Linked DNA regions of Homo sapiens: region 1 is linked to region 2. The links are contacts of gene promoters, found by promoter capture Hi-C in blood cells and fetal thymus (Javierre and others, 2016). All regions are on one chromosome and are shown on one strand. The core of a region is centred on a gene start or on the middle of the fragment in contact, and the rest is flanking DNA. Distances in the headings are between cores, read along the strand shown.

Evidence for each region. Contacts are between HindIII fragments. The CHiCAGO score rates a contact against its expected background, and 5 or more counts as called.
Region 1: a fragment that was not itself captured here is called in contact with the fragment with the promoter of MEI1 in region 2 in 2 of 17 cell types (erythroblasts and endothelial precursors); the score reaches 5.6 in erythroblasts.

The regions. Positions count from the first base shown.
Region 1 is chr22:42,116,289-42,119,778 of GRCh38, reverse strand. The region is part of intron 3 of NDUFA6-DT (NDUFA6 divergent transcript); the gene reads right to left. Among named protein-coding and RNA genes, the nearest start is that of CYP2D6, 13 kb to the left of the region's middle. The HindIII fragment of the contact is 1,554 bases long and covers 1,067-2,620 here.
Region 2 is chr22:41,697,576-41,700,879 of GRCh38, reverse strand. MEI1 (meiotic double-stranded break formation protein 1) reads right to left here and starts at 1,377. Exons shown (of 31, transcript NM_152513.4): 1 at 1,168-1,377. The coding sequence starts at 1,341. It also overlaps the pseudogene C22orf46P. RefSeq lists a silencer at 1,305-1,404. The HindIII fragment of the contact is 5,602 bases long and covers 1-2,183 here.

The DNA of each region.
Region 1 (3,490 bases), core at 594-3,093, 420 kb before region 2:
TTTTTTTTTTTTGAGACGGAGTCTCGCTCTGTCGCCCAGGCTGGAGTGCAGTGGCGTGATCTCGGCTCACTGCAAGCTCCGCCTCCCGGGTTCACACCATTCTCTTGCTTCAGCCTCCCGAGTAGCTGAGACTACAGGCGGCCCGCCACGAGGCCCAGCTAATTTTTTTGTATTTACTAGCAGAGGCGGGGTTTCCCCATGTTAGCCAGGATGGTCCTGATCTCCTGACCTCGTGATCCGCCTGCCTCGGTCTTCCAAAGTGCTGGGATTACAGGCATGAGCCACTGCACCCGGCCCCAGCTGACCCTTTCTTTAACGACCTCGCCTTTTCTCTTGGCTGCTTGACCTCTCATGCTCTGGTTTTCCTCCTGCCTCCCACTCCTCTCTCTCTCTATCTCTCAGTCTCTATCTCTGTCTCTCTTTCTGTCTCTGCCTCTCTCAGTCTCTATTTCTGTCTCTGCCTCTCTCAGTCTCTATTTCTGTCTCTGCCTCTCTCTGTGTATCTCTATCTGTCTCTCTCTCTGTATCTCTGTCTCTCTCTGTATCTCTAGCTCTGTCTCTATCTCTGTCTCTGTCTCTGTCTATCTCTCTGTATCTCTAACTCTGTCTCTGTATCTGTTTCTGTCTCTCTATCTCTCTTTGTCTCTCTGTCTCTCTCTGCCTAAATCTCAGTGTCAAGTGTTGCTCCATGTCCTGCTGACGACAAAGACTCTGAACTTCCACCTCAGACACTCACTTCTAGGCCTTTGCATGTGCTGTTATCTACCTAGAATGTGTTTCTCCATGGCTTTCAGGAGGGCTCCCCTGACTACCTGAGTTCACGTGGGGTGGCCCTCCTCAGTGCTCTTAGGGTACTGTACTGTCCCCTGACTGAGGGACCACTTTAGGTCCGTCCACTGTCAAACCCCCAGTAGCTGCCCCTATGCGTGGGACACAGCAAGAGCTAAGTAACCAAATGAATGATTACATGGCTGTGGTTCATCCTAGTGCTTAAAGCCATGATCAGAGTTGAAAAGTTGCTGTATCTTATTCAGATTTCTACTAGCAACATATTCAATAGTAAGCTTTGTTAGTCATCTATAACCCGGTGTAAGTGAAGTTATCAGGTCTTTTTCTGGGAGGAGGTTTAGAGGAGGAAAGGAGAGAGAATGAGTCCTAAAGGAGAGAAGAGGAGTAGAAGGGGCATGTCAAGTAGAAAAGGATGTAGAAAAGGTAGGCTTGGGGTAAAAAGATAATTTTCACCTGCTTGGGTGGTTTATTGAGGGCAGCCTTTTAGGCCTGCTTACCAAAGAGGCCAGTCTTGATGACGCTAGAAATTTGCAGATAATCCTTTTACCATATCAGTGTCAGGCAGCTTATCCACCTCCTCTTGGGCTCTATGACCAAACCCAAGAAGAGCACTGAGGCCCAGCTAAGTCTGGGAGTTCAGTGCACAGGCCCCCCCTTTCGCACAGAGAGTGGTGTCTATGTGTGACATCGTGTCTTAGGGGGGCTTTATGACAGGACAACCTCTTCAACCTTGGCCAGAACAGCTTGTCAAATGCCTCGGGGTGGCTTTAAATCCCCAGTAGTGAGAGACAGCCCCTTTGTACATATCTCATTGTTTCAATTCAGCACAAACAGTGCTGACTGAGCAGCTACAATGTGCCAAGCTCTGTGTGAAGACCCATAGAGACACAAAGATGCAAAAGTGTGTAAGACTCAGTATTTTTTTTTTGTCTTTAAGACTGAGTCTTGATCTGTTGCCCAGGCTGGAGTGCAGTGGCATGATCATGGCTCACTGCAACCTCCACCTCTCAGGTTCAAGAGATTCTCATGCCTCAGGCTACCGAGTGGCTGGGATTACAGGTGTGCATCACCATGCCCAGCTAATTTTTTTGTATTTTTAGTAAAGACAGGGTCTTGTCATGTTGGCCAGGCTGGTCTCAAACTCCTGGCGTCAAGTGATCCACCCGCCTCGGCCTCCCAAAGTATTGAGATTACAGGCGTAAGCCACTGCACCCAGCCAAGACTCAGTCTTACTGCATAACACAATAAGCATATTTTCTAAATCCAAAACAAGAACACAGCCTAACAATTGAATGTCATCTATTCATTCATTCAACCAGTGTCTGCTGAGCTTCCATTTTGGTCCAAGCATTATGCTGAGAGGATCAAAGGTAAACAGGACATACAGCCTACCCTTGAGGAGCTCAAAGACTTCAAACAGACATTTTATGGTTCAAGACAATAACTTCTACCTTCCTGCAAATTTCTGTAAATGTAACAATAATTACAAATCTATGGGTGGTTGAAACTGAGGGATGGATGCCTCAGTTTCACATACACATGAAACATTCACCAAGATAGGCCATATTCTGGACCACGAAACAAATCTCAATGGATTTTAAATTTATTTCAAGTATGTCCTTCAAACACTGTGGAATTAAAAATTACAAATCAGTAACAGATTCCCAGAAAGAGTCTGAGCTCAGACTCACCTAACCCTGCCCCAACCTGACAGTATTTCTCTACCCGCCCTGGTAGCTGATCACAAAAGCCATAAACTCTTGGGAGCTTTATGGCCCTGTCCATCACCTGAGAAATCCTAATACTTATCCTGGCCAACTTAGGGCAAGCTTATATCCCCCTTCCAGTATTGCAGCTGGTGTTCTCTTGAAAGCGCCACCTCCTGGCTGGAGGCCAACCAAGTCAGGACATTACAGCAACTCACAACAGAATAACCCTGCTCCAAGAAATGAGAAACAGCTAATTCCACTGCTTTCAACATCCTGGCTAACCAGAGCTCCTGAGTCTGTCCACGTGACAACTTCACTGCTAGCATAACCAGCATTTGAGAAAGCCAGCACAGTAAACAAAACTACAAGCAAGGACTCTCACACTCACAGTCTACTTTACTCCCCTCCCACCTCCACCAGGGCAGGTGCTGGTGTCCATGGCCAGGAGAGCTAAAGACGGATCACATCACAGGACTCTTTGCAGACATTCCTCAGCACCAGCCTGGAACCTGGTAGCCCCACTGGGTGGCTGGACCCAGAAGAGCAATAGCAATCACTACAGTCTGGCTCTCACGAAGCTCCATCCCTAGGGGAAGTGAGAATGCATCACATCAAGGGGTCACTTTGTGGGACAAAAGAATCTGAACAGTAGCCCCTGAGTTCCAGATTTTTCCCCTGAAATAGTCTACCCAAGTGAGAAGAAATCAGAAAAATTGTAATATGACAAAACAAGGTTCTATAACACCTCCAAAAGACCATACTGGCTCCCCAGCAATGAATGCAAATCAAGAAGAAATCTCTGAATTGCCAGATAAACAATTCAGATGGTTGATTATTAAACTACTCAAGGAGAGACCAGAGAAAAGTGAAAACAAAGAAATGTAAAAAACAATACAGGCTATGGATTGGCCAGGCGCAGTGGCTCACACCTGTAAACCCAGCACTTTGGAAGGCTGAGGCGGGCTGATCACTTGAGGTCAGGAGTTTCAGAC
Region 2 (3,304 bases), core at 128-2,627:
CCCAACACTTTGGACTTTGGGAGGTCAAGGCAGGAGAATTGCTTGAGACTAGGAGTTCAAGACCAGCCTGGGCAACACAGGGAGACCCCCGGGACCGTTTCTACAAAAAAAAAAAAAAAAAAAAAAAAAATTGAGAACTGCTGATCTAGCCAATCCACCCACTCACGAATTCCCCTCCCATGAATTGGAGAGAAACTTGACCTCCCAAAGTCTTCTTGGATGCCTCCATGGACAAGAAAACTCACTGCAGGTCGGGCACCGTGGCTCACGCCTATAATCCCAGCACTATGGGAAGCCGAGGCGGGTGGATCACCTGAGGTCAAGAGTTCGAGACCAGCCTGGCCAACATGATGAAACTCCGTCTCTACTAAAAATAGAGAAATTAGCCGAGCGTGGTGGCGGGAGCCTGTAATCCCAGCTACTGGGTAGGTTGAGGCAGGAGAATCGCTTGAACCCAGGAAACAGAGGTTGCAGTGAGCGGAGATGGCGCCATTGCACTCCGGCCTGGGTGTCAGAGCGAGACTCCGTCTCGAAACAAACAAAACCACTTCATTGCAAACGCGGTAGGCAATGAGGACCCAGGCAGCCCGCTTTGGCCAGCTCTGCCCAAGGAACAGTCTTCCCGTTCACCCCCACTTCTGCCCGGCTGTAACCTGTCACTCCTGTCCCCTCGGAGCCCAGACTGCCCCTCCTCCGATTCACACCCCGACAGCTGAAGGGAATGAGGAGCGGCCGCCGCATGCGCCCCTGGCCCGCAGGTGAGTGGAGGCTGAAATGGCGGGAGGCTGAAATGGCGGGAGCCTGAGCTAAGGCCGAATCCCCGGGAAATGGAGGCAGGGGCAGCAAAGGGAAGGAGCCAGAAGGCGGAAGGCGGGAAGGTGTGTCCCTGAGACTGGGTGAGGTCCCGGGGGATCCGGATTTCCGTCCTTTCAGGCGCAGAGCCAGTGGACCGGGCTCCACGGAGGCCCGCAGGCCGGCCTGGGGCTGAGGGGCCCGAGAGGCCGCTGCGGCCGGGTCCGGGACGGGCTGACAGGGAGGAGAGTGAACACAGCGCGGGGGCCCGGTTTCGCGTCGGGTTCACCGGAGCGGGTCTGGCAAGGGCCTGGCCGCGTTTGCTGAGGGAAATGGCCAAACCCAGGTCTTCTGAAGAAAAGGTTCCGCCCGCACCGACACGCCGGGGTCCGGCAGCAGCTCCAGCGCGCAGGCCAGGCACAGGCGGGGGGTCACGGGCAGCAGCCAGCGCGGGTCGTGCCGGTAATGGGCCCTCTCGAATAGAAGCGCCGCCTCTTCCTCTCTCCTGGGCCCGGGAGTGCCCGCCGTCGCCGCCTGCCTCACAGCCATCTCCTCGCTTGCCCTCAGCTGAGGCGGCACTCTTTCCCGCGCAGACTGCACGCATGCGCACTTGGAGGACGGACCTGCGTCGGTGTGGAATGCGCCTGCGCGGACCCAGGGCGCTGCAGTCTCAGACGAGCAGCAGCCACTGAGGGCAAGTGGTGGACGCAAGTGCTCTGGATCGTGTCTAGCTAAGCCAAAAGCGGTTTGTGCTTAGAACCCTGCAGGAATGTCTTTACCACATCCAAAGTTGAAAAGCAATTATAAAGTAGGGGGCATTTGCCTTGAAAAAGGAAGGAAAGGAAGCTATTTCTACTGTTTTTTAAAAATGAAGGCCGGGCATGGTGGCTCACGCCTGTAATCCCAGCACTTTGGGAAGCCGAGGTGGGCGGATCACGAGATCTGGAGATCAAGACCATCTTACCCAACATGGTGAAACCCCGTCTCTACTAAAATACAAAAAATTAGCTGGGTGTGGTGGCAAGTGCCTGTAATCCCAGCTACTTGGGAGGCTTGAGGCAGGGGAATCACTTGAACCTGGGAGGCGGAGGTTGCAGTGAGCTGAGATTGTGCCACTGCACTCCAGCCTGGCGACAGAGCAAGACTCTATCTCAAAAAAAAAAAAAAAAAGGAAAATAAGCGATCCCAAGGATTCGCATCTAAAAGCAATTAGAGGCTGGGTGAGTTGGCTCATGCCTGTAATCACAGCACTTTGGGAGGGAGGCTGAGGCAGGAGAATCACTTGAACCTGGGAGGTGGAGGTTGCAGTGAGCCAAGATCGCACCACTGCACTCCAGCCTGGGTGACAGAGGAAGACTCCATCTTAAAAATAAATAAATAAATCAGAAGCTTAAGACCAAAAAATAAAAGTAAAAAAACAAAACAAAACACCAAAGACAGAGAGAAAGAAGTTCAAGACCAGCCTGAGCAACAGGGCGAAACCCCTCCTCTACTAAAAATACAAAAATTAGCTGGGTGTGGTGGCTCATGACTGTAATCCCAGCTACTCGGGAGGCTGAGGCAGCAGAATCGCTTGAACCCAGGAGGCGGAGGTTACAGTGAGCGGAGATCAAGCCACTGAACTCCAGCTTGGGCCACAGACCTACACTCCATCTCAAAAAAAAAAAAAAAAGCGTCCCATGCAGAGGACCACCCCTCCCCATAAGCAGCTGAGGCTTTTGGAGTGTCCTGCCTCAATCAGGATTAGCTTGGAGACAGAGCAGGATAGAACCTCAGTGGACTCCACTGTGAGGAGCTGGGGGGCAGGTGTTTCGGAGAGGACACTGGGTTGACCCACATTCCCTAAACCACAACCACAGAGTGGAAGGGGCTTCTACCCCACCCACAAAGTATCCCAAACCCCGAAAGGGGGCACTTGGAAAATGTGCCAGAGAAATCAGAACACCACAGGGCCCAAATGACCAATTTATTAGAGGCTTTGCAGGGATCAGGACACTCTCAAAGCTTTTCTGATATGTCCTGAGGACTCTGGGCCTGAGTCTACTTTTTAAAGCCATTCTGGAAGAGAAAAAAATTCAGATGCTTCATAATACTAAACTTTTTGGAGGCTCGTGTATTCTGTGGAGCCCCATTTGGGTTCCCAGGTGCCTCCTGGCCCTGGGGACTCTCTGTCTTAGGAAGGGTGGCCCCAGTACAGCAGTGACCTTGCAGCTGAAGATCCCTCTGTGAAGCAGTGTGATCTCCGATGCTGTCCTCCCCTGCACGAGGATCACCCACTTTGGGAGGCAGAGTAGAATCAGGTTCCCTCAGGCTCAGGTTAGGGGCCAAGTGCTTGCGCTTGGCGAGCTGTGGGGACCAGGACATCTTGGCCAGAAGGGTCAGGCCCAGCTTTGCCACCGCAGAGTGGAGCCTCCCTTTGAAGCTGACAGGTTCTGCAGAATGGCAGGAAGGCTGCTGCCCAGCCCCTCTGCACCCTGTAGATTCCAGGCTTCCTCTTCTCCAGTATGTGAGC